Regions from separate parts of the Homo sapiens genome. Here all the other regions are linked to region 1. The links are contacts of gene promoters, found by promoter capture Hi-C in blood cells and fetal thymus (Javierre and others, 2016). All regions are on one chromosome and are shown on one strand. Each heading gives the region's core, a stretch centred on a gene start or on the middle of the fragment in contact. The rest is flanking DNA. Distances are from core to core; before and after follow the strand shown.

The links. Contacts are between HindIII fragments. The CHiCAGO score rates a contact against its expected background, and 5 or more counts as called.
Region 2: a fragment that was not itself captured here is called in contact with the fragment with the promoter of ZBTB18 in region 1 in 1 of 17 cell types (fetal thymus); the score reaches 7.8 in fetal thymus.
Region 3: a fragment that was not itself captured here is called in contact with the fragment with the promoter of ZBTB18 in region 1 in 1 of 17 cell types (fetal thymus); the score reaches 5.7 in fetal thymus.
Region 4: a contact is called between a fragment that was not itself captured here and the fragment with the promoter of ZBTB18 in region 1, in 1 of 17 cell types (naive B cells). The highest score is 5.4, in naive B cells.
Region 5: a contact is called between a fragment that was not itself captured here and the fragment with the promoter of ZBTB18 in region 1, in 9 of 17 cell types (M0 macrophages, fetal thymus, endothelial precursors and 6 more). The highest score is 9.9, in M0 macrophages.
Region 6: a fragment that was not itself captured here is called in contact with the fragment with the promoter of ZBTB18 in region 1 in 1 of 17 cell types (M2 macrophages); the score reaches 6.9 in M2 macrophages.
Region 7: a fragment that was not itself captured here is called in contact with the fragment with the promoter of ZBTB18 in region 1 in 1 of 17 cell types (fetal thymus); the score reaches 5.3 in fetal thymus.

Annotation. Positions count from the first base shown.
Region 1 is chr1:244,049,396-244,053,119 of GRCh38, reverse strand. It overlaps ZBTB18 (zinc finger and BTB domain containing 18), which reads right to left and starts at 1,837. Exons shown (of 2, transcript NM_205768.3): 1 at 1,676-1,837. The coding sequence starts at 1,688. RefSeq lists enhancers at 561-1,062, 2,779-2,828 and a silencer at 2,509-2,598. The HindIII fragment of the contact is 5,583 bases long and covers 902-3,724 here.
Region 2 is chr1:243,247,997-243,251,720 of GRCh38, reverse strand. All of the region lies in intron 1 of CEP170 (centrosomal protein 170), which reads left to right. Among named protein-coding and RNA genes, the nearest start is that of CEP170, 5.4 kb to the left of the region's middle. The HindIII fragment of the contact is 5,300 bases long and covers 1-3,724 here.
Region 3 is chr1:243,271,314-243,275,037 of GRCh38, reverse strand. SDCCAG8 (SHH signaling and ciliogenesis regulator SDCCAG8) reads right to left here. Exons shown (of 18, transcript NM_006642.5): 4 at 382-495. Among named protein-coding and RNA genes, the nearest start is that of SDCCAG8, 17 kb to the right of the region's middle. The HindIII fragment of the contact is 931 bases long and covers 1,739-2,669 here.
Region 4 is chr1:243,329,129-243,332,852 of GRCh38, reverse strand. It overlaps SDCCAG8 (SHH signaling and ciliogenesis regulator SDCCAG8), which reads right to left. Exons shown (of 18, transcript NM_006642.5): 10 at 2,161-2,313. Among named protein-coding and RNA genes, the nearest start is that of MIR4677, 15 kb to the left of the region's middle. The HindIII fragment of the contact is 1,395 bases long and covers 993-2,387 here.
Region 5 is chr1:243,346,853-243,350,576 of GRCh38, reverse strand. All of the region lies in intron 12 of SDCCAG8 (SHH signaling and ciliogenesis regulator SDCCAG8), which reads right to left. Among named protein-coding and RNA genes, the nearest start is that of MIR4677, 2.5 kb to the right of the region's middle. The HindIII fragment of the contact is 6,251 bases long and covers 1-3,724 here.
Region 6 is chr1:243,386,820-243,390,543 of GRCh38, reverse strand. All of the region lies in intron 13 of SDCCAG8 (SHH signaling and ciliogenesis regulator SDCCAG8), which reads right to left. Among named protein-coding and RNA genes, the nearest start is that of MIR4677, 43 kb to the right of the region's middle. The HindIII fragment of the contact is 2,369 bases long and covers 854-3,222 here.
Region 7 is chr1:243,407,256-243,410,979 of GRCh38, reverse strand. All of the region lies in intron 13 of SDCCAG8 (SHH signaling and ciliogenesis regulator SDCCAG8), which reads right to left. Among named protein-coding and RNA genes, the nearest start is that of MIR4677, 63 kb to the right of the region's middle. The HindIII fragment of the contact is 3,882 bases long and covers 171-3,724 here.

The DNA.
Region 1 (3,724 bases), core at 588-3,087:
ATGTACGAGATCAGAAGGAGCTGCACCAACAGATGGAAAAGATCATCTTTACTATGAACAAATCCAAAGATTTTTCAAAACGAACTGAGAAAAAAGTAGTTACATTTCTTTGTAGAAACTGTACTTTCAGAATATTAGGAACCAGAGGGGCTTTACTGAACTCCGAAAATTCTCATCTAAACTTTGATCCGTTGCAAGGCAAAATGAGTTTCATATTGAAATTAATTCAAACTTTTAAAAATAAAGGCATACAGCGCTTAAATAAAACTCAAAAGCTTTACAGGTTCAACGTTTTTTTTTAAGCCTTTTTAGAAAAAGAGAACCTTTTTTTTTTTCCTGGTTCTGCCTTACCTCAGCCAACAGAAAATACTTTGTTTCAATATAATTTGATATATTTCTGTTTTCCCACTAGCTTCTATTCTTGCAAATATTCATCATTGCCCTTGTTTTGTGATGAGGGAAAGTGAAATGGAGGGAGGAGAAAGGCAAAGATGTACAAAGGGTCAGAATTCAACTGCAGTGGGTAAACTCCTGAAAAATAAAGAAGACCCGACTTCCCCTTTCCTGTGACCAGAAGCAAGCCTCCACACCACCCATCTCAGCAAGTGCATTTTGGGAATAGATACACTTAATTTAATATTCAGAAATTACTTCCTTTCTTCTTGTTCTTCTACACTTTGCCCAAGACAGACTAAAACTTTATCCTAACCCCAGACACATTCTGCAAGATGCCACTGCTAGAATAAACTAAGATTTACAATACAATCACTTTAAGTGCCCCACAGCTAACATCAATCCTAATCCTTGAGAAGGCTAAAAATAAAGATTGGAGGGCAGCTCACAAGGTAGCCGTGATCAAATTAGGAGGCTGAGAGGACAGAGAGGGACGAAGAAGGAAGCTTATAAACATCTGATCCAGCTGACTGTGGCCATATGGCAGCTGCTGCCCAGATAAAGAGATTAAGAATAGAGGAGTGCGATTACAGCTGTCTGGCCAATTCAGGCAGCTCAAATCTACAAGTTCTAAATTAGTCGCTAACACAAAAACTCCTGCAAATAATTATTGTTATGCTGAAATAAAAGATCTCTTAAATATATATTTGAAAGAGAAATGAGGAAACCAGTCAAACTATTCTCCTGGGGACAAAAGTTTGGTTTTTTTTTCTTCTTCTTAAAAACCTGCAGTTTCAACAGCACTACAGCTGTATGTTTCAGTAGTGCTGCTCAATGTTTTGAAGAATAAAGTTTCACAGAGGAATTAATTATACAACAATCTAGCTGCTTAACTAGAATAATCTTCTCATATAAGTTTGAATGCTGGATTCCAGTTTACTATTTCCCCACCACCACCACCCCAATCAAATCTAAATAGCAGTGAACAACAAAAAAGCATTTTAATCCAACGTGATTTCCAAAAGCAGCATTTTAAAGCCTTTCTTAACATTTCAAAACTTGAAATATTTGTGTATTAAAGTTATTTACTCGCTCAAGTAAAAGGGATAAAAAATTAAAACTAAACAAGCTCAAGACTTTCAACTCCAGTAAGATGTTCATTTAATACTCAATTTCATATATTATTCCTAAACTGGGTTAGAAAAGTAATGTGATTTTTAAAATTAAATAAACAAAACACCAAAACAGAAATATGCTCAATCTAATCTCTTGCTACTCCTACCTTTAGGACACATAAACCTGATTAAGTCCTTTCCTCTGAGTCCTGCTGGCTCCAGGTCTGTTACATCGGTGGAAAAAAAGCAGACTAAGAGAGACAGATGCAAAGTGGAGATGATGTTAGAGAGGAATGAGATACCTTCTCCACCACAGATCCGCACACACTAACTCCCTGTCTGTGTGTTAGAATAAAAGGCTGAGGGATGGCAGGCTGTCAGCTGCTCTGACATCATGTTCAGATGGAAATGCTACCTCCAGCTGTGCTCCTTTTAATGCCATATGCTACTCCTCTACACTCCTGCCACCAGCTTTTTCTTAGGAGAACTTTTCTCTTCTGTTAGTATAAACAAAATACTTCAAAGTCTTCCTTTTTTTCCAAACTTTCTAACAGAAGAAATTGAAAAACTCAGCATATGGAGTTCTACTGTATTTATGGAATAGCAACACTTCTGTCTTAAGTTGGTGGACTGGCTTACATACTGACAGCACACTCAAGCCACGGTGCTATTCAGGAAATCCAGATTCACTTTTATTCAACTCCAACGTTTAGTTTCTAAAGCAGTTTAGGGATATTTTTAAACCAACCCATTTGACATCTCCAGTCCCATTTCAACATTATTACCGCACTTTTTTATTTTTTTCTGCTGAGATAATGGTATACATGTCTCAAATGTTGGCAGACTTGTTCAGAACTATTACTTCAGACTGGTTCACCTTATTATTTCACTCTTATGTAATTACTTATCTACAACTACCTTCTCAGAAAAATTTCTTACACTGCCACAGTCAATGCAAATTTCAATTCTCGGTACCAACAAGCTGAAACTGCACTTTCTGAAATCCTGGAAAGTACTTCAGTTCAACGAGACCAATTAATAAACTGATACAACCTGCTCCAGTCACTTAAAATGAATGCTGCACCTGCATATCTGATCTTTCTGCTCAGAAAAAGCAGAACCTTGCCTTCCCCTTGATCTGTGTCCCTTAACAATCTTTTTTTTCTTTGGGGGGGGGTCACTCTAATGTTTATGATCACAAGAAAATCTTTGTGTGGGGGGAAGCCAGGTCTAGTAAGTTTGAGAACTTTTCAGCCAGTTTGTGGGTCTTTTCTAATAGCTGATGAAACTGTAACGCGACCCGGGCTGGGCTGACCGGTACCGGGCAGGGTGCTGCGACATCTCTGAATGTCAAATACATCTCCTCAGACTCTTGGGAGGGCGAGGGGTAGAAAAGGAACTGGGGCCTGAGGCGCCAGCGTCCCAGCCCTGGTGATAACCACTTCGTTCCCATTAGAAAGCCGTGGCGGAGAGTTAAAGAGTAACAAAACCCGACGACTCCGTCCTGTCCTTCTCGCTTTCCCAAAGTCACAAACCTAACTTTCTCCAACTTCGCGGTGAGTGACATAATTATGAACACTTAGTCCAGGAGACATCCTCGGGAGATCAATTTCTTCCCAGCCACACCACCTATTCTCCACAAATGCCCTCGACCCATTCCAATATATCAGACATTAATCACCCCATTTACCCAGTGGGGTGGGGGGTGAGTGACAGTTTAATGAGTCCCGGGCACCGCAATGGGCCAGCAACTCCCACTCCACAAATCAACCCCTTCACGTCTCGCTACCGCGGATCCATAGAGGTTTTGTGAGGTTGGGGTTTTGTTTTTCAGAGAGGTGGGGGCGGGGGTGCCGAGTGGGGAAGCAATGCAAATCTTTACGTAGTTCGCCGTGCATAAAACACACGGGGAAAGAGGAAGGTTAAAACCACAGGGAAGGAGGTGGAGGGCGCAGAGCCGGTGCAGCAGGAAAACACCTTAAACAACAGAGGAGAAAACAGACCCGGGTCACGGCAACAACAAAAGAAAAGTCGTAAGAAGCAGCCAGCGGGAGGAGAGTGGTTGCTACCGCTTCCCCGATGCCGCGACGCGCGAGCCCCCGGGGCCTCCGGGCAACTGCACCAGCCCGGGAGGGCCCCCTCCCCCGCCGGCCCCCTCCCCCGGGCGCCACTGCAGCTGCACCGGTCCCCGGAGCCGCGGCCGTCCCGGGCGCCAC
Region 2 (3,724 bases), core at 713-3,212, 800 kb after region 1:
AGGTCTGAAAAACAAATGACACATAGCAGAGAACAAGTCATTTTTTAAGTATATCCATAAGTAATAAATGATATAGAAAATATTACCCTTTGAAACACAATATTTATTGAATCGTTGAATAATACCTACCAAATTTTGAACATTTCCTAGGTGCCAGGAAGTTTATGTGTGTGTGGTGTGTGTGTATTTAATTTCTGCAACAAACTTCTAAATTAAGGTATTATTTTTACACATTGAAAAAATTTGAAGCATAGAGTTAGTGAATAACTTTGCCTCTGCGTTACACATTCCTAAGTGATAGGGCCTATAATTGAACCTTTGTCTTTTTGGCTAAAGCCAAAATTCTTTCTACTCATCTTTTTTAGTAAGTTAAAGGGTACCACTTATTTCCTTACTCTGGTTCATAAAATTTTAGAATTCAAGGGAACTTTAGAAGTCAGCTCATACAATGTATCACCCACTACTAATATCTCTGAGATGTTATTGGGTCCAACTTCTCCACAAACCCTTCCCTGGGCATAGGAAAGCCTGTTTAGCTTCCAAAAAGTGTAATAGGAAGATCTCACTTAAATTGAGCTAGTAGCTGCTTTTACTATATAACTTCTTCCCACTGGTTGCAATTCAGTCTTTAGGAGTAAGATGAAGTAAGGTTTTTCTCAATATATTAGCTAGATTTTCTCTTGTCTAAATGTTAGGACACCTCCAACTTCATATGGTTTCCTTTGCCATCCCTCACATCTCTCAGCTGGATTCAATCAGTTTTGTCAGTGCTATTCTTTGTGTTCTGATCTTGTTTCCATATTTAATTCTGCAGTTATGGTCTGAATGCAAAGTGCAGTGAAATTGTCCCTTTCCTTATTTCAAGCCATACACTTGTGTTTAAAGTCTAAAATTGTATCAACTCTTTAACAACAGTCATCTCTGCTAATTCAAAGCAAAAAGCAGAGAGAGAGAGAGAAATGTTACATGGCTTTTCAAGTTATATTTATGTAATTCAAGGTACTATTTTTTGAGATTTTGTTCTCCTTTTCTAATGTTCATAAATGGCCTTTATTAAATGATAGTGTTAGTAACACCTATTAAGTAATGATAGGTTAAGTTTCTTTTGATGTTGGTCATGGGGTTTTGTTTTATTTTAGTGTTCCTGATTAACCAATAAAAAGTTGGCAGCCTTATGTTGATTCTTAATTTGTTTTCTGAAAAATTGGTCTGGAAACCACTGATGTAGTCAACATAAACCAACATTTTTACACTTAGCTAGATTTCTCCCATTGTGTATAAACACACAGGTGATGTTTTTAAACCAGTATTTTACCATTGCCTCCTATTAAATTTCATCTCCGTGAACGTAGCTATAGTTAAAACTTGAGATCTTCTTGAATCATGATTCTGTCATCCAAGGGATTAGCTTTCCTTCCTGGCTTTTTGACATTTATAAATTCAACAAGCCAAACTCTTATGTCTCCATCCTGGCCATATACTTAATATAGCCAAGGACAAAGCCATGCACATTTATAAATAGAATGAATGTTACATAAATAAAAGATGCTGGGAGGAAAGGTGACACAAAAATAATGAAAACCATTCGGATGGGTTTTTTTTGTTTGTTTGTTTTTGGGGCCTTTTTGTTTGTTTTTGTTTTTGTTTTTTTGAGACGGAGTCTTGCTCTCTCGCCAGGCTGGAGTGCAGTGGCTCAGTCTCGGCTTACTACAACGTCTGCCTCCTGGATTCAAGCTATTCCCCTGCCTCGGCCTCCCGAGTAGCCGGGACTACAGGCACGCCCGGCTAATTTTTTGTATTTTAGTAAAGACAGGGTTTCACCATGTTGGCCAGGATGATCTTGATCTCCTGACCTCATGGTCCACTGCCTAGGCCTCTGAAAGTGCTGGGATTACAGGTGTGAGCCATGGCGCCTGGCCTTGTTTTGTTTTTTAAATTAAAGAGAAAACCATTATATCCTCCAGCAGTAAAGGAATTAGATGAAGTTTACAATATACTGGAGGATATGGATAATTCTTTTACGATGTAAAGTCAAGTAAGGATAGATGCTATGAAGAAAAATTAATCAAGGTAAAGAGACAGTGGTAGAGGACTGCTGTTTTACATTTGTTTTCAAGTGTTCATTCAGGTAGTTTTCAAATAATATTTTGAAAAGAAATAATATGAAAAACCTTTTCACCCTACATCTTATCTGCTGAGTTACCACTTTTGCCAATCCAGTAAGTAGCTATTTTTATTATTTCTTATGTATTCTTCAATGAACTTTATTTATTTATTTATTTATTTATTTATTTATTTATTTTGAGACAGAGTCTTGTTCTGTCGCCCAGGATGGGGTACAGGGGCAGGATCCCAGCTCATTGCAGCCTTGACCCGCTGGGCTTAAGCAATACTCCCACCTCAGCCTGTTGAGTAGCTGGGACTACAAGTGTGCGCCACCATGCCCAGCTAATTTTTTGTAGAGATGAGGTCTCACTATGTTGCCAAGGCTGGTCTTGAATTCCTGAGCTTAAGTGATCCTCTTTCCTCAGCCTCCCAAAGTTCTAGTATTACAGGCATGAACCACCACGCCTGGCCATGAATTTTTCTTCACCTCAAGCAAATATAAATACATATTTTGTGTCCCCTCTATGACACAAAAAAATAGCCTCTTTATCCACTATGCTACACCTTGAGAACTATCTTAGAGTGGTTAGGGAATCCCTCTTTCTGAGGTGACATTTAGCAGAGAACTTGCATTAGGTAAGGAAGCATCTTGTAGGTATCTGAGTGGAGAGTATTCTACTCAGGTGCGGTGGTTCTGAGGCAGGAATGGGATAAGTGAATTTGGAGAACACTGTGGCTGAAGGTGAGTGAGGAAAAGGTGCTTATAGGAGGAAATGAGGTTGCATAGAGATTTTATTCATTGATTTTAAGTGCTATGAGCATTCATTGGAGGATTTTGAGCAAAGCCAAAAAATTGGGTTATATTTTTAAAGAATGGCTCTGGGAATTCTTTAAAACACTGGGAACCATGAGATAAGCTAGGAAATGATTGGAATGATCTGGTTTAAGAGACATTAATGGCTTAGACTAGAGCGACAGTAGTGGCAATAGTGAAAGTTACTAGTTTCTGGCTTTAGAGAGTCAAATGTTTTGGATATGTTAAGTTTGAAGTGTCTGTTAAACGCCCAAGTGGACACATCAGGTAGGCAGTTAGATATGTAAGTCAAGCATTCAGAGGAGAGGTTTGGACTGAGGATAGTTAAATGTTAAGCATCACCAGTAGACTTAAAGGGATCTCTTGGCTAGGGAGTTAGACTGAGAAGAGATCCAAGAATTGAGAATTGGTACTTTCCACATGGAAAGCTGAGCAAAAGAGAAGGCGCCATCGAGGAGGATTGAAAAGTGGACAGTGGGGTGTGAGGAAACTGAAGAGTGTGTTGTCCCACAAGCCAAGTAAAGGAAGTATTTTTAGAGATAAGGAGTGATCAGTCCCCTGTATCACCTTTAATCACCTAAATACTTCATAAGAAATCAGGCAGTATCCTCTTTCTTTCTGAATGGTCTCTGAGAAAGCAATTTCCTTTTTTAAATCTGGTTTATCAACATGAATGTTCACAGTTATTCTCCCCTGGCAACTACTAAATCTAAAGCCCTGAACAAAGTTTTACTCATAAAGAGGCCAATGCTGTTTCCTACGTGGATGAGTATGGCAGCTGCTGCTGCCTCTGATGTTTGAACA
Region 3 (3,724 bases), core at 955-3,454, 780 kb after region 1:
CCTGATTGCTGTACCACTGCTCCAGTAGGTTGACAAGTATGGGAGAATGATTGGTATTTGTATTCCAAAGCATTTGCCATTTGCTGGGCTACAGCAAGCGGGGTGAGAAGGAAAACTTCTGAAATATGAAAGCATATTATGAAATCATTAGACATAGTAATGAACTACTGGGAAATCAAGCAATCAGAAATGGTATGGTCAAGAGCATCATTCCCAAGTCTGACAAGCTCTTGTGACACATCAGTCTCTCAATCACGTAAGAATAGCAATTGTCAATGTATTGCTACAAACATGAAGATTTATAGCAGCAAATTTTAATACAATCTATAGTTAATATAAGCTTTCATTTATTTAGTTTTAAATTCTTAATGAGAAACTTACCTTGCAGAACTTAACTTCTGCCTCTAAATGATGAATATATTGAGACTGGTCATTAATAGTATGAACAAGGTCGTGCATAGTAGGCATATTGGTTTCCTCATGTTCTAATGACCTCTATGACAAAAAATAAATAAATAAATACATAAATACATAAATTTTAAAAAGCCAAATTAAGCATGTTTGGATTTAGCAAAGAATCAGTTGTTACCTTCTCCATACTCAATTTTGCACTGATGTGATATAAACATAGAATCGATCACAATGTAGCTTATAGTCTTGATATAGTTTGGATGCTTGTCCCCCACAAACCTCAAGTTGAAATGTGGCCCCCAGCATTGGAGGTGGGGCCTGGTGGGAGGTGTTTCGGTCATGATGAATGAATCTTGGTGCTATCCTCATGATAATGAGTTCTTGCTCTGAGTTTTGGTGAGATTTGGTTGTTTAAAAGAATGTGACACCTCTCCCACTTCTTGCTCTGGCTCTCACCACATGAAATGCCTGCTCCCCTTTCACCTTCCACCATGACTGAAAGTTTCCTGAGGCCCTCACCAGAGTGAGATGCCAGTATCACACTTCCTATACAGCCTGCAGAACCATGAGCTGATTAAACCTCTTTTTTAAATAAATTACCCAGCCTCAGGTATTTATTTTTAGCAACACGAGAATGGACTAATACAAATACTTGCTTCTCTATCCTATAAATTCCACAAATACACAAGATTCATGGATGTGAATATCATTTTTTTTAAAGATGGATGGTGAAAGTGGTTATAAAAAGCACATATAGTGAATGGAAAAATGCTGGGGTAGCAGTAGTATAACTGGCTTGGAATAAACTATTTTAACAAATTGGAAAAACAACATTCCATTCAGTAATGCTGAGATACAAGGGACAACTCTCTCCAAGAAACTGCCATGGAAGAGGATTTGCTAGCTAAAACTGCAGCAGCTCCGTGAAGGAGAGATTCTTTAGGAAGCGTTTGATGCCAAGCCAGTGTCAATGCGATGAAATTCCATCTCAAAAAAGATACATTAGCAAAATGTAGTTTTTGATTTTTGGCTCTAGTATTGAAGGCAATTCAAGTGTATGGTGTTCTGGAGCATAGAACCTCCAAGAGTAGAACCCTAAAGTAGAGACACACTGCATTGAGGGGTCCAACGAAGAGATTTCAAAAAAACGCTAATGCTATTTTAGCTCTGTAGCATTCCTGGAACTGACTGTTAATGTATAGCTTACCTTATCCTAAAATAGTTTGTAAAATCATATACCCATCACATAATTTTTTTTTTAAAGGATGAGGAAATCAGGAAAAGGTAAAACAAGGGTCAACCAGTTAAACAAAGCCAGAGGAAAGCTTGAAATGAGGCACAGTGTCTGTTTCTCAGCCACTCTCTTTCTCAGCACAGCAGACATTTTAAATGATAATCAAGTACCAGCTATCATGGCAGAATAAAATAAAATAGAGCTTTGGTTTTTTGGTATATTTAAGAAATTTAAAAACCAAAGTAACTCTAATTAAATGAATTATCTGTCCTGAGTAGAAATCAAACAATTATAATCATCCTCCATTAATAGCAATAGGTTCAGAAGATAGGCAAATATAAATTACTACTATGAGTATACAGGAGGAAGTCAATGTGAAAAATAAAAAGCTCAAGCCAATATTGTATGAAAAATGTTCACATGAAATCATTTGTGTCTACTTTGAAGGGCTTTAGTTTAGATATCTACATTTTAAGACAATAAGTAATAACTTTTTTTCCATCTCAACAGTGCCTCAGTTTTACTCTCAATATATGCATGTATTTCTAATATGTTATACTGGCTATGAAAGTGCATTCTAAAGGTATAATCTTAAAAAGCTAATTATTACTATTATGGTTTATAATTATTACATGTAGGCTGTATACATATAGAGTCTAAGTTCCATTCTTTTACATAGCTCCATATAAATAGACTTGTGTATTTTAAAGTGCACTCTGTATGTACTAAACTGATTCTCTTAGTGAAGGTCTTCCTGCCTGTCTGGATTCAGTAAGCTCCATAATATCACTGCTCAGACTTTAAAAGGCAAATAAGCATGTCTGAGCATTCAACAGATAAAGCAACTTCATCTAGTAGATTTAAAAGCATTCCACCAGTCTGTGCTTAAGAGCAAGCTAGAAACCAGATGTCAATAGTAATAAATTCATTAAATGATGAGATGTTTTACTAAAATTATAAAATCTGTATCTATAAATTTAGAATATGCATATGAAGTACATTTCTCTAAAGTAGGAATTAAGCTTAAAAGTATGTGTCAGCCTGGAATGGAGTGTTCGTATGGGAGTGATACTCTGATATTTCAGTGGTGAAGAAAAGAAAGTGACATGTCTCCACACTTTTCAGCATACAGGCATTGTATTGAACTAGAAAACACATTGAAAATGTGAGGTGGTTACTTGCTGCTATGCATGTTATGTTTATGTAACACTTCATAGGTTTCTAAAGAATTTTAAGTATGTAATCTTATCTCATTATTCCAAAAACTCTGTGAGACAGGCACAATATCTTAGAGAGTATGTGATAGACCCTAGATAGAACTAAGCCCTTGACTATTATTTTGTCCACTTAAATCTGGTCCAGAGTGCTTTCACTCACATCTATCTCAGCCTTTAGCATATAAAATGCTTTAATCAGAAATAATACACTCTGTCAAAGCAATAACAAACAACTTCAGAAGAAATACAGCACCACTTCTTATATATCATACTATTTTATAACCATATATTTTAACATATAGAACATTACATATTAAAACGTATTATTTTGAGGCCAGGCGCGGTGGCTCACACCTATAATCCCGGTGCTTTGGGAGGCCGAGGCTGATGGATTTCCTGAGGTTCAGAGTTCGAGACCAGCCTAGCCAATATGGTGAAACCCCATCTCTACTAAAAATACAAAAAATTAGCCTGGTGTGGTAGTGCACATCTGTAAACCCAAATACTAGGGAGGCTGAGGCAGGAGAATCGCTTGAACCAGGGAGGCAGAGGTTGTAGTGAGGCGAGATCATGCCACTGCACTCTAGCCTGAGCAACAGAATGAGACTCTGTCTCAAAAAAATTAATTAATTAATTAAAAATAAAATGTATTATTTTGACACTCAAAATTTAAAAAATATTACAAAGTAGGGCTACAATTATAATTAAGTAACTTCTAAAAATGATCAATAATAGATATGACCCTCTAAAAAAGAAATTACTAAAATAATGACTTTATCTTTTACATATATTCTGACATATAATTTATTATATTAATTTATTATATATTATATATTTATATTACATATTTTGCTAACAGTTG
Region 4 (3,724 bases), core at 441-2,940, 720 kb after region 1:
CCTCCAGACCGGGACCACGATAATCACCTCCAGACCTGGACTACGATAACCACCTCCAGACCGGGACCACGATAATCACCTCCAGACCCGGACCACAATAATCACCTCCAGACCTGGACCGCGAAAATCACCTCCAGACCTGGACCGCGAAAATCACCTCCAGACCTGGACTGCGATAATCACCTCCAGACCGGGACCGCGATAATCACCTCCAGACCGGGTCTGTGATAATCACCTCCAGACTGAGACCGCAATAATCACCTGCAGACCTGGACAGCAATAATCACCTCCAGACCGGGACCGTGATAATCACCTCCAGACCTGGACTGCGAAAATCACCTCCAGAGCTGGATTATGATAATCACCTCCAGAGGGGGATTATGATAATCACCTCCAGACCTGGACTGTGAGTCACCTCCAGACCTGGACTACGATAATGACCTCCAGCTGATCTCCAGGCATCTATTCTGCTTCTCCTTCCAATCCACTGACAAAATGATTTTTCTCAAATATAAATGGCATCGTGACACTGACAAATTCAAAGCCATTCAATGGCTTTCCATCCCTTTTTGGACAAAATTGAAAATCCTTCATATGGATTTTAAAGCCATTCATGATTCCATCCCAACATAATTCTCCAAACTCATTCCCACTACTCTGCTCCTCTCTCTCTATGCTCCACCCATCAGGGCCTTCTCCAAATTCCTAGAAAGTGCGATGCTTTCCAGGTCCAGAGTCTTGGGTGTGTTATATTCCTGGGCCTGAAACCCTCTTCCCCTCTTCACCTGTCCATTCATCAATGCTTTCAGGTCTCATTTTCAACATCTCTTACTCAGGAAAGTCTTTCGTGACTGCCTAGACAAGGTCAGATTCCTGTTACACATTCCCACGATATCCTAAACCGAACCTTATGGCTTTATCACAATGATGATCGAAAACTCACTTATGAAAACATTTGTGTAACATCTACTTCTCCTACGAGTTTGTAAGCTTCATGAGGAAACTGCATCGTTCCTGTGACTACAACATTCCCAGCCCCTCTGGTTAATATCTGTTGAGTGTGGAATGAATAAGAGAGAGGAAGGCAAAAGAGGACTGCTAGAAAGCACTGAAAGGACCGTGGACACCGAAGACCTGGAGTCTACAGCCATGTCATCTGCAAGGCTGTGTGATTTTTACCAGCAGAGATCACCAATCCAGGGCAGAGAAGGTAGGTAGTAGGGTTTTGACAGACACAATTTTTAAAAATGGATAAGAAGACAAGGACATTTACAGGAAATGCCTGAGTTTACTCTTATTAAGACTTAAAACTCATAGGGCAGAAGTTGTGATTTTTCTCTTTACATATCTTTAGGCCTCCACATTGCTTTGCACACAGCACATACTCAGTATATACTTACTGAATAAGTTAATTATCACACATTGAATCTGATAACAACATAGCATTTAGAGTACAAGCTGTGAGTCCACTTTTAAAAACAAACATGTAACACAGTTGTTTTGGTTACTTGATGGACCACAACTTGCTCAATTCGAGTCTAGTTAGCAATTTTAAAGCTAGGTCCCACTCAACTCTGTATTCTAGTTTGTGAACTCCTTTTCAAACACTGCTTGTTTCATGTTATCTGTTCCTTTTGCCTTAAATCTCTCCCTTCATCTGGTTACCGTCATTATTCATCATGTAATTTGTCAGAACTGATTTCATACAGAGTGCATAATCACTTTTTCTTGGTTACTCAGTTCCTTACAAGTGTTTCATCTTCTGCATATTTAATTTAGGGGTAGGAGATAATGCAGGGGAAGTCATCTCTCCTTGATTTAGCCAAGGTTGAAATAAAATCTGGGTATCTTCATAGCACGACTCTGGGAAACACGAGAGAGGGAATCCAACAGAATGGCAGGATTTAAAGTAAATTTTGTAATTTCATTGTATGGAATCTAACTGATTATTTTATTTGAAAAGATCAGCATAAACTATTGAGAAATATATGAAAAGATAAAACATTTTTATGAATTCTAAATTATACGAAATTTAACTACTTATATAATAACGATTTTAAAATTTAAAGTTCATTCAAGAACTCCAGCCTATGGAATCATCAATGGCATCATAAAAAACCTTTCTTCTGCAATGTGGATAACAGCAGAGTCCTTAAGTACCTTTGATCCCATGTACTCCCTTTCTTTCGTTATTTCCTTTTTCATCATGTCTTTCTCAATGGCCCTTTTCTCTTGCTGAGATGCAAGTTCTTTTTCAAGTCGCTCCGCCTGCCTCTCCAGCTCCTTCCTCAACTGGTCACACTGGATTAAAGCCTGCCAGGATAGAACAGATTGAAAGAGGAGGTTAGAATTTGGAAAAAATATAGGTAAAATGACATAATTAAGCTTTAAGTATATTTAAAATAGCAAAAACTCACTATAAAGCCCATTAGAATAATTTTTTATTGTTTATCAATACCACTTATTGACCTAAAAGAGTATCCAAATGTTACATTTATTGACATATTTCAATTTTCATGATTAAAGCCATATTAATTAATCAATGACAAAATTCAGGTAATGAACCTTGATGACGGCCACAGATGAGTCAGAATTTTAAAAAAGGGAACCAGAAACACCAAGTGTTCTAATATTTTCAATTATATATCATGTTTATACTACACGAAATACGTAAGTATCCAATTTAACTGATTTCTTATTTGCTCATGGATAAAAATTATTGGAATACTTCAAATGATAGATCAAAATACTAAAATGAAATGTTGAATATATCATTACACACAGGCATCTTTTGTTTAATACTATATAATAATCAAGTTTCCTTAAATATAACTAAGAGAAAATTTAGTTCACTCCCCTTAAACATACAACTGAAGTAAAAATTATGTAATAATCGTAAGTTAAATGGAAAGACTCAAGACAGTATTCACTACTTAGTTTTATAAGGATCTTCCACTTCTGGTAAAGTTCATGATTGTCCTTTACTGTAAATTTCCCACTCTGCATTTCCAGAAATAAAAAATCTCTAACTTCATTTTGGCCACTTTTACAATATCTTTATTTATAACACCCAATAATGAAATATGACTTCAAAAATCCCAATTTGGGGAGGTCTTTTTTTGTATAAATATATGGGGTACAAATGTAATTTAGTTACATACACAGATTGCATAGTAAAATCCCAATTTTTAAAAATCCTAATAAAAGTAAGGTACTATAGTATCTTATAGTCTTATTCCAGTGGCCCTTATGTACAATATCCACCTCACACAACCTCTCTTTTCCCCTGAAATGGTAGAAAGAACCCCAGGTCTCATGTGACTTACATGCTGTATGATTAGAAATTTCATAGTCACATTTGATTTTAATGGAGATGGAAATGGCCTTAGTAAGCACTGTAAGTTTTATGCATAGTTATGCTTCCCTCTGGTGAAAGCTATAATAAATACAGACAATAAATATCTAGGATATGTGAATTTTCCTCTCTTCATCTGGAAAGCATTAAACTCCAGTTTCTTTTGGTCTCTTCTGAAAAGTTTCTATGCTCCCAGGCATAAAATATAAAGGTAAAATTCAGTTGTCTCAGATTAACTAATAAACAAATACAATGAGTAAAAAGTGATTCTTCTAGGGAATTAGTCCCAAGTCAAAATTCCAGCCGAGAATGCCTGGAAAAGGAAATTTTAAATTAGATATTAAAATAAATGAAAAGGCATACTTTTTC
Region 5 (3,724 bases), core at 906-3,405, 700 kb after region 1:
ATTCTTCAACTTTTCTTTATTGCTTTTATATTTCTCTAACTTTAAAAAGGACTGACATAGGCCGGGCGCAGTGGCTCACGTCTGTAATCCCAGCACTTTGGGAGGCCGAGGCAGGTGGATTGCCTGAGCTCAGGAGTTCAAGACCAGCCTGGGCAACACGGTAAAACCCTGTCCCTACTAAAAAACAACAACAACAACAAAATAGCTGGGGGTGGTGGCGTGCTCCCATAGTCCCAGCTACTTGGGAGGCTGAGGCAGGAGAATTGCTAGAACCTGGGAGGCAGAGGTTGCAGTGAACCGAGATTGCACCACTGCACTCCAGCCTGGGCGACAGTATGAGACTCCGTCTCAAAAAAAAAAAGAAAGAAAAAAGGACTGACTTTTAGGGCTTGCAGGCAGGCCTTCTTCTCCTTACACAAAGCCATACAATATAGATGCACTTCTTCCAACAGTCTAGTTAATTCAACTGAATTTAGGCGATAATTCCTGTGTCCTTACACTCCATCCTTAATGTCAGTGTCCAAGTGCTGAATCACTGCTGTAGATATGAGCAACCCTCAAATCCTTTTTTGCCCTCATTTTTCCAGCCAAAATTTTTGGATCTATTTCTTTTGCAGAGATACCCCACCCTGAATATTTGCTTTGATTGCTCCATTAAAGTCATTTCAAACTTGATGTTTTCTACTCAGTAGTAGCCACAACTCCAAAATTATAATTTATACAATGCCGGTAAAAAAAAAAAAAGAAAGACGCTTTCTATATCAGCCTTCTTATCTCTGAAAAATAAAATTGGAACCAACCTAAAAACAAAATTGTAAATATAAAATCATACGGTATTTACACTCCCATCCAAGCCACTAGTAAGTCATGTGCCACTAATAAGAAAATGCCATGATTATCAGTGATACACTCGCTGAGTAATGCCATTAGATTTTTAAGAGACTAAAGATGTGGCACATTTGTTATACTGCAAAATACTCTAAAACCATTGTTATTATTTAAGATACATGGGTCTTCAAACTCAAAGCTCAGCATCCTAGTAAGTCAGAGGAAACTTAAAAAATACAGTTGTATTTCTATACTCAAGGTAGGGATTGGCAACTTTTTCTGTAAAGGGTCAGACAGTAAATATTTTAGGCTTTGTGGGCTATATGGTCTCTACCACAACTCCTCAACTCTGCTGTTGTTGCAGGAAGTAGCAATAGGTGATACATATATGAGTAGGTATGGCTGAGTTCTAATAAAACTTTATTTGTAACATAGACAGCAGGCCAGACTTGACCTATGAGCTGTAGTTGGCTAACACTTTTTTATGAATACTGGGCACATTAGCATATTGAATATGCATATGTGTCTGTATATGTGAGTGGGGATATATACACATATATTAGTATGCAAAATCTCCATTTGCCCATCCCCCTGGTTATGGCAGTTTCTTGGGCACGTGATCAGTGCAGTCACACATGTGCTGTTCAGAAGGGTCCTTACACTTGCAGTTTAATACTCTGTGGTCAATGTCTTGAAATTATTAGCAATTGTATCTTAGAATTGTGTTTTTTTTTTTTTGTTTTGTTTGTTTTGTTTTTATCCAAGACAGGGTTTCGCTCTTGTTGCCCAGGCTGGAGTGCAGTGGCGTGATCTCGGCTCACCACAACGTCCGCCTCCTGGGTTCAAGCAATTCTCCTGCCTCACCCTCCTGAGTAGCTGGGATTACAGGCATGTGCCATCATGTCCGGCTAATTTTTTTTTTTTTTTTTTGTATTTTTAGTAGAGACGGGGTTTCTCCATATTGGTCAGGCTGGTCTCAAACTCCCGACCTCAGGTGATCCGCCACCTCGGCCTCCCAAAGCGCTGGGATTACAGGCGTGAGCCACCACGCCCGGCTAGAATTGTGTTTTGTAGGTGTACTCTGATGGAACAATGGAGACTGAACTCCTGTATGTGGTCTCATCTTTCCACTGCCTCACTGCAGCCCTACGCAGTTCTCAGAAATATACTCCTCTCCAGCTTCCTCTATCCCGCCCTGCCCTGCTGCTGGGGTGGGTCCCTCCACCTAGGGTGGGACCAGGGCACTGGGGGAGGTGCGTATGTCACTGGGGGAGGTGTGTGTTCTCCTGTGTCTTTTGCCCCTGGCAGAATCCTGAATGTGTGTTTAGAGAGGATTGAGTCAAGTGTGCCCATCCCTGCCATCTTAGAGCTGGACAGGGAGGTAAGAATTCCCGCCCCAGGCCGGGCGCGGTGGCTCATGCCTGTAATCCCAGCACTTTGGGAGGCCGAGGCCGGCGGATCAAGAGGTCAGGAGATCGAGACCATCCTGGCTAACACGGCGAAACCCCGTCTCTACTAAAAATACAAAAAAAAAAAAAAAAAAAAATTAGCCGGGCGTGGTCGTGGGCGCCTGTGGTCCCAGCTACTCGGGAGGCTGAGGCGGGAGAATGGCATGAACCCGGGAGGCGGAGCTTGCAGTGAGCCGAGATCGCGCCACTGCACTCCAGCCTGGGCGACAGAGGGAGACTCCGTCCTAAAAAAAAAAAAAAAAGAAAAAAAAAAAAAATGCATGTCCAGCCTGGGTTGGTGAGGGAGGAGGGGCAAGGAGAGAGAGACTGAAGAAGAAAGGAAAATGTTTTATATTTTAGTTCTTTTTAATATCACTTCTTTCCTGCTTTCTGAACAAAAGGGTCCTGTATTTTCACTTTGCACTGGGCCCTAATCAAAGGTTAGCGGCTATAAAGAATCGTCTTCTCAGATTAATTTACCAAAAGGGAAGTTGACAAAAAAACTCTATTTCTGCATCACTCATTTCAGGTCAGCTCATCCTTGTCATGTTAGGGCCTCCTGCAACATGTCCAAATCTTAAATACAAGGCTGTGAAATTAATGCTGAATTTGGGGTTTCGGATGCGAGGAAGCTCCTTTTGGGATATGATTATCAGGAATGCTGCGTGGTAGCCATTTCCTTCACATACTTTGCTGTAGGATTAATTTATACCTCTTTAGAATGACAATGAGGCATTTTATAAAAATAAAGCATAATCAAAACATTATGTACAAAATTTAACAGACAACAACAAAGAAAGATGAAATTTTACTAAGAGTTCTGTTTATTTCCTATTAAAAAGGGTAACACCAGAAAATTGGACATACAAAAACATACTTGTTCTCCTAATTTGAATAAACCAACTGTAAAATCAACATTTTTGAGACAAAGAAATGTGAATATAGGCTGGGTGTTATTTGATATTAAAGAAGTATTGTTAACATTGTTAGGTATGATAATGACATAGTATGTAAAAATATCCTTCATAGATCCACATGGGTATTTATGAGTAAAATAACATAAGGTCTGAGATCCATTTAAAATACTTCTGCAAAAGAAGAAAAAGAGGTAGAGGAAGAAGACAGAAGAAGATGAAGATGAGAAGGTGGAGCAGAAAAAACATGACAAAGAAGATGAAGGTGACGATGAGGACAGAAGTAGAGAGAAAAAAGTGAGATAGATGGAATAGGATTGAGGAGGAGGACTGGCAAAATGATGAGTGATGGAATAGGATTGAGGAAGGGGACTGGCAAAATGATGAGTGATGGAATAGGACTGAGGAAGAGGACGGGCAAAATGATGAGTGTAGGTGATGGAAATGTGAGGACTCATTACAATATTCCCTATACCCTCATACATGTTTTTAAATTCCCCTGATCGAGTGTGTGTGTGTGTATAACCATTGCCT
Region 6 (3,724 bases), core at 789-3,288, 660 kb after region 1:
CATTTCCTGGCACTGCCTGACTTTCGAACCTCTCCCGCCCCGGGCCACACTGAGACCAGGGTTCTTAGCCCTTCAAACAGGTGGAGCAGAGCAGGCTCAGGCAGTGTGGTGTCCACCAGAGCAAAATGAAATGCCTTTTCTTTTCTGGCTTTCTGACAGCCTGTTTTCTCTGATACTGGGTGGGGGAAGGAAAAGAGGACGCAATTTAAAACAGCACCAAGGCCATCTATTTCAAGCCTTGAAGATGTTGGTTGCACATATATCCATTTAAAATTATTTTTGACACATTCTCTGCTTAATTTATTCATGAAAGGAGTACAAGAAAAAAATGAGCTTAACTTTGAAATGGAAACTTTAGGCTAAAAATTCTTGAATAAAACTCAGGAGGAAAAAAAAGATAAAGTTCACTGTAAAATAGCAAGAATATACATCAATGTTATAATATCCTCTTCAAATAAACAGATAATGAGTTTGGCTTTTTGACCTAAGCTTGTTGTTATCTTAAGATGAGTTCCCCCCAACTTTTTGTTTTAATTTTCCCAATAATAAAGAGCAAAGGGAACTTTACTCAATGTTTATAGAAAATCTGCTAAACACCCAGTGCCTGACTTGGTGCTGGGGGCACAGAGATGAAAGAGACCTGCTTCCTGGTCTGGGTGCTGAGATTTTACAACACCAAAAGTGTTTCTATCTCAGTTTGAAACAAGCTTTTGCCCTTCATCCCCTGCCTACTCTCCTCCCTCCTGGATGCCCAACCTCAAGCTTCCCCTTCGGAGGCTCGGCTTCCTCATCTATAAAGGACTGTTTTTTCTTAGGCTTGCTGGAAGCAGTGAGAAGCATAGCATCTCAAGCTTCTTGTGGTAAATGATCAGCATATTTGTTTTAATTTCTAATCTTTTGCAAATAGTTTTTTAAAACACAATAAAAATGAATTACTAGAAAAAAATTTAAAAGATACTCCCCCAAAAAAAGCTCATTGATCATGCGCTTGAAAATTGTGACAATTTAAAATTGATATAAAATTTGCCAAATACTTCTGTAGATTCCGGTACTTATCTTGCCATAGACACTAACAAGCAGCCATCATGGGCCACAGCTGGAACAGCACTATGCAGAAACCAAGCACAATACATGTGCATGCTAGAGATTTAGCTGTGCTTCTTTCTTTTTATATTCTAAGAGTTTTCTAAGTAAAACAACAAAGAGACCCTGTTGTTGTGAAGAACTGATGATGCCTCTTTGGACTTATCACATGTTGACAATGGAGAATATCATTTTCCAACATACATGGACAAAAATGTGCACTTCACTCCCCTCTCTCCACTTGAAACCATTTCTTAGAGGAAAAATCAGGACTTGCATTTTTATTTATTATTTTTTTTTTGGGGGGGGGAGGGGGGACAGAGTCTCGCTCTGTCGCCCAGGCTGGAGTGCGATGGCAATCAAAGCTCACTGTAGCCTTAAACTCCCAGGCTCAAGCAGTCTTCCCAAGTAGCCAGGACTACAGGCACGCACCACCACGTAGCCTCCCAAATAGCCAGGACTCAGGCACGCACCACCACGTAGCCTCCCAAATAGCCAGGACTCAGGCACGCACCACCACGTAGCTTCCCAAATAGCCAGGACTCAGGCACGCACCACCACGTAGCCTCCCAAATAACCAGGACTCAGGCATGCACCACCATGTAGCCTCCCAAATAGCCAGGACCCAGGCACGCACCACCACGTAGCCTCCCAAGTAGCCAGGACCCAGGCGCGCACCACCATGTAGCCTCCCAAATAGCTAGGACTACAGGCATGCACAACCATGCCTGGCTAATTTTTTAATTTTTTTTTTTTTTTTTTGGTAGAGCTGGGGTCTCATTATGTTGCTCAGACTGGTCTTGACCTCCTGGCCTCAAGTGATCCTCCCACCTTGGCCTCCCAAGGTGCTGGGATTACAGGCATGAGCCATGGCACCTGACCAGGGATTATATTTTTAAAAAGACAACAAGGGCAACAGTGCAGATACTTGGTGTTTTACTCACCCAGGATCCCTGACACCTTTCCCCTAGTAAGAGCACTTCCCCTTACTTAGTGAAACTTTCTTCCCTTATTCCATGTGGTTCTGAAGAGGCTACCAGCCACAGCACCCAAAAGTGCGTGTGTGTGCCCAAGGGTGATCCTAACCAAAGGTTTTGAAATTGGAAGTGAAGGAGCTAGGAAGTCACATTCTTACAGTTTGAAATCAAAGGTATTTCCTTTATCATCAATTTCAGAATGAAAGATGTTTTACTTCATGGTATGAAAGAATCTGAAAGAATTAGCAAAATTCAGATAGAAATTGAGCCCTGTTCTGGAAAGTTAGAATATGATAGCATGCTGGCTCCAGGAAACCCTGAGTCCAGCTGCACCTGGATTGTACATGGTCTAGTTATAAAAATTTATCAATTTCTCCTTTTTGGATTTCAGTTCACCCAAAAAGTCCTGACTCGTATGGATAGGCTGGGAGGTCAAACAATTAATTTCAAGAAAATATCTGTACTAGAGGCCGGGCACAGTGGCTCACACCTGTAATCCTAGCACTTTGGGAGGCTAAGGCAGGCAGATCACCAGAGGTCAGGAGTTTGAGACCAGTCTGGCCAACATGGTGAAACCCCGTCTCTACTAAAAATACAAAAATTAGCCAGGCATGGTGGTGCCTACCTGTAATCCCAGCTACTTGGGAGGGTGAGACACGAGAATTGCTTGGACCTGGGAGGCAGAGGTTGTAGTGAGCCAAGACCACACCACTGCACTGCAGGCTGGGCAACAGAGCAAGACTCTTGCTTCAAATTAAAGAAACAAATAAGTAACTGTACTAGTTACTATGTGGAAACTGAAAGCCCTGGAAAGGCAGCCTCTATCACTCTCCCCACATGATCTATCCATCATAACAGGTTAACCTAGTGACTCCTCTGCTGTACCCTTTTCTCACTTTCAAAAAGACACAAATCCTATAGGTCAAGTTGCTGTCTCTCTAGGTCACAGGTCAGATCTTCCCATCTGGATCACAAAAGTAGGTCACAGTATAATACCTGTTTGGTGGACTCTCACTTAGATTCCTGCTCTGAGAAATTCTTTGAAGTACATACATATTATTAAAAAGATCATTTATGTAAAAGGAGAAATAAGAATTTTTAAGGTTTTGTACTTAGGGCAATCCGAGTTCTAAATTCTCTGGATAATAAACAAAAGAAAGCTTCCTGCAGTAGTTCCCCTCAAGATCAGATACAAGAAAAAAAAAATGCAGGATTTAAAAAAATGTGTTTCAGTACATGGGCAAAAGGTATGGAAAAGAATGTCTCAGTAAGCAGTTAATAAGAATCACATAAACGGTAAGAAGTGGTTGCTTTATTCAGCCATATCGTAAATTAACCCAACCACGTGTGTATAAATGGTAGTCATATGAGCGGCATAAGCCACCGCCCCTGGCCTAAGATGAATACATTCTTAACCTCCGAGGTGATACCTATAGCTCTTTACAGATATTTGGACATGTCAAAAATAAATACTTGAAAAATTTCTACTTTTTAATAAAAGCCTCTCTTTCTTCTTGGGTGAAAATTAAGTAAGGGAGTAAAGTAGAATGACAATGGCATTATAATATGTTTAAATGACAATGGCAAATAATGGGCCAAGGGAAACTATGTTTCTTAGGAAAAATTCAAGCCAAAATTCACCGTCACGTGTCATGCATAAGGGA
Region 7 (3,724 bases), core at 862-3,361, 640 kb after region 1:
ATTAAAGGAGTGAACAAGTACTGGCTAGGCCTCAAACACAGATTACATATACATGGAAGCATAGTCATTCCTTTTTACCAATTATAGTTCTGGTTGATTGCATTTTCTAAAAATGGTCACAATGATATTTACCATCCCACTTTTTAGAAACGGCACTGAAGCATTAAGCTTATATTTTTGATACTCAACTTTTTCATATCGTTTATTATTTTAAATCTTGCAATTTAAAAAATGTTCATGTCACAGAGCAAAAATGATTTGTTAAGCAGATTTTTTAAAGTACATTTTCTAATGATGTTAAATTTAGCTCAACAATGACCCTGGGACAGAAAAAATGAAAGGCTCAAGTCTGGAACAAGGACCTGGTAGTTGTGGGGTTGAAGCACCAATCCCACCTTCCATGTTCCTACTCACCTTTTTACTGATGTCTGAAGTTCCAATGTGAGACATACAACTCTTTTGGCTAAAAGGTGTTTCCCTTTTAAGATAAAATTTTGTGAGCTTTGTGATAGTAGCATATTGGTATGAAAAAACTTGTGAGAATTTATAACATGCTTACTGGCTGAAAATCATTAAGGAATACAGACAGAAGGGGCAGGGAGGTGCTGGGTACCGATGTGAGTTTAGACAGAAAATGTACACCTGTCCCAATATTGGTGCTATTAGCTTTGATAGCTTGATTAACATCATTGGTGTGCCAGACGATATTTAACAACAGGGCTCCAGGGGACAGGAAATCCCTCTTTGGTAGTATTCACCAATTTTCAGTGTAGACACTTCCACCATGCTCTATTTTCAGCTACCAAAGTGACATCACTGAATACCAAGTTGGGAAGAAATACACATAATTGGCTCTCATGGGCTGGTACAAGTCAGACTCAGCAAAACAGCAGTTAGGTGAGCTGTCCCAGGCCTCTCTACTGTAAAGTTACTCCTTTCCTCTCTGTATCAGGTTGGCACAAAAGTAATTACTTTTAATGGCAAAAATCACAATACTTTTGCTCCAACCTAATAAGTAAGAGGTAATTTGTTGGGAGATGCCTAGACTATGCAAACATCCTATTCTTCATCGAGCTCTCATCTAATAGTTTTACATCCAAAAATGACTTTTTTACTCCATTATTCTTTCTCTATTTTTTAGTTAACATTGTATTATAAGAAAGAGCTTTCCCTTCTCTCTCATTTATTAATTCATTAATATCAGCATGGAGTCATGGATTCATATCTTATTCAGTGGGTTATAATCCATTATGATTATTATTTTTATGCTCAATTTATCCTGGATTTGGCCAGGGGGAACCCTTTCAAGGTGGTTCCTACGTGACATGTCTCTATTGTTCACGTGGCTTTCTATCTCCACAAAATGTTGCAGGCTCATCTTGTAATGTCCTTGTACCAGTCTTGGAATCAGCATTTGACCAAGGAGCTGTTTTTGTGCCTTTAATGGAGAATGGTATTTAGAAATCAGGATCTGTCACTAGGTGGTGCTCACTGCTACTGCAAAATCATTGCTTCTAGGTCACCTTGGTGGACTAAGTCTGGATATGAATATACATGTAAGTGTATAAATGTGAATATAAATATAAATATTTGTCTGTATCCTATATGAATATATGCATACACATTCATACTGGTCTTTCCAATTACAATCCAACAACATACATAGAACCTTGTCTCCCTTTTTTCCATAATTGTAATTTTTTCCTCAATAGTAAGAAACTTGGTTCCTATTATCCTCAACATACTTGTTTGTTCAAACTTGGAATACACAGAAAGTAGTTTCAAAATTAATAATCTATGGAAAGCAAATCTACTAGTAACTAGATTTCAATATTTGCTTATAGTTTTGTTTTGTTTTGCCTTGTTTTTTAAACAAATGTATAGGTACTTTTTGAGTTTATTCTCTTTGTGCTCTGGGAAGATGACACCTTGAGAGGCAATGGAGTACAGCCAAACTCACAGAGCTAGAGGGTCAGAGTATGGCATCTACCACCTTATCACCTGTGTGACTATAGACTAATAACTTTCTTCCTTTAATACTGGGGTTCTTCATTCAAGCAGAACAAAAAGAAAATCCAACCTTAAAGGACTAATCCTTTTAAGAAGCTACTAATTACTAATGTTTACACATAAGCTAAGGTCTTTACATGCATTCTTTTATTTAATCCTCATACCAACCATATAAAGTAGGTTCTCTTAGTATCTTCACTTTATAGATAAGAAAATGGGAGCCTAGAGAGGTTATACAGTATGTCCAAGTTCTTTAGTTATTAAAGGTTACAGCCAGGAAATCCAGGGCTATCTGACTCTAAAGTCCACAGTGAATCACTATGCTTCAGTCTCTTCTTTTATCAGGGATGTAGAGAAATGAGAGAAGGTTGAAAGGATAACAAGTGTCTATTTCAATTATCTATATGGGAGTGTGCCATTTAATAGCCATATTATCCATCTTGACAGCCAAATCCCAAGCTAGTTCTCCTTCTTCTTTCCCTGTTGTCCCCTAAGCTATTGGATTACTTTCTCCTACAATGACACCATCAATTAGTTGTGTCCTTCTCGAAGACATATATTCACCTTTGCAAAAACATTGAAAGGTACCACAAACACATCTCCTGCCTCAAGTGGCCACAGACTCTAGAAAAGATAAGACATGTGCATCAATCTGGAATCTAAATCCATGGAGAATAGGAACCTTTGTTTTGCTCACTAATTTATCCCGAAAATCTGGAATAGTGCCTGGTACACAGTTGTGTGGTCAATGAACATTTCATGAATGAATAAACGAATGAATGAATGATCAACTACTAAAAGACGGAAAGTACTAAGTATCCTCACAGGTGTAAGTATCATCCTGTCTACTGACTACAGTCAGAGAATATGATAAGATAATCTCTATTTTTGCAAGAATTTATTATTATTATTGAAAATAAAACAAAACAAAAACAATAATAAAATTGGTAGACAGCATGATGTCTTCCATGTTTCAGAAGAACCCAAAATTCTATGCTTATTTACAGCTAACAGGGGCTGTATTCCCTTATTTGAGCAAATGTGGAACTACTGAGAAGAAACAGAAAGGAAAACACAGGAATGAGATTCTGGAATCTCTACTTCCTTAAGTATGCAAAAGACTTAATGGCATATTTCCTGGAGTAAATTACTTCTATTTTCTTCATTGCAAAGTATGTCAGAACTTCAAGCACAATGTTGAAAGATGAGTTATCAGATCAGAGAATGAGTCACTTCTAGGGAAGAAAGCAGAAACAGAAAGGAGGTCAACTTCTTTCAAGGGAATATACACAAAAGAAAGGAAATATTTAACAGAAACATCTCTAAAAATAATTTTCCCTCCAAAAATGTTCTTACAGTATCTCCAAAATAATTTGAAAACTTACCTTCAAGGCAAAAGACAATACAGTAGACTAGCTATTGCCTGTTTCTATTACATATGCACAATTCCCATCTACTTTTAAAACAAAACCACAGACTCTATCAACTCCAGTTACTAGCGCATCACCCTTTGCATGTCTGTACTTTCTATTTTAAAAGGCACATTCAAATGCACCGACCTCTCTATTCTTCATAACATCTCTGTGGGGCAGAGAGATGGAACAGATATTCCTGTTTGATAGATAAAGTGTCTCAAACTCGGGAATTAAGAGATTTTTCTCAAAGCCATGCAGCTAGTAAGTAGCAAAGCTGGAATCCAAATCTGTCTTCTCAC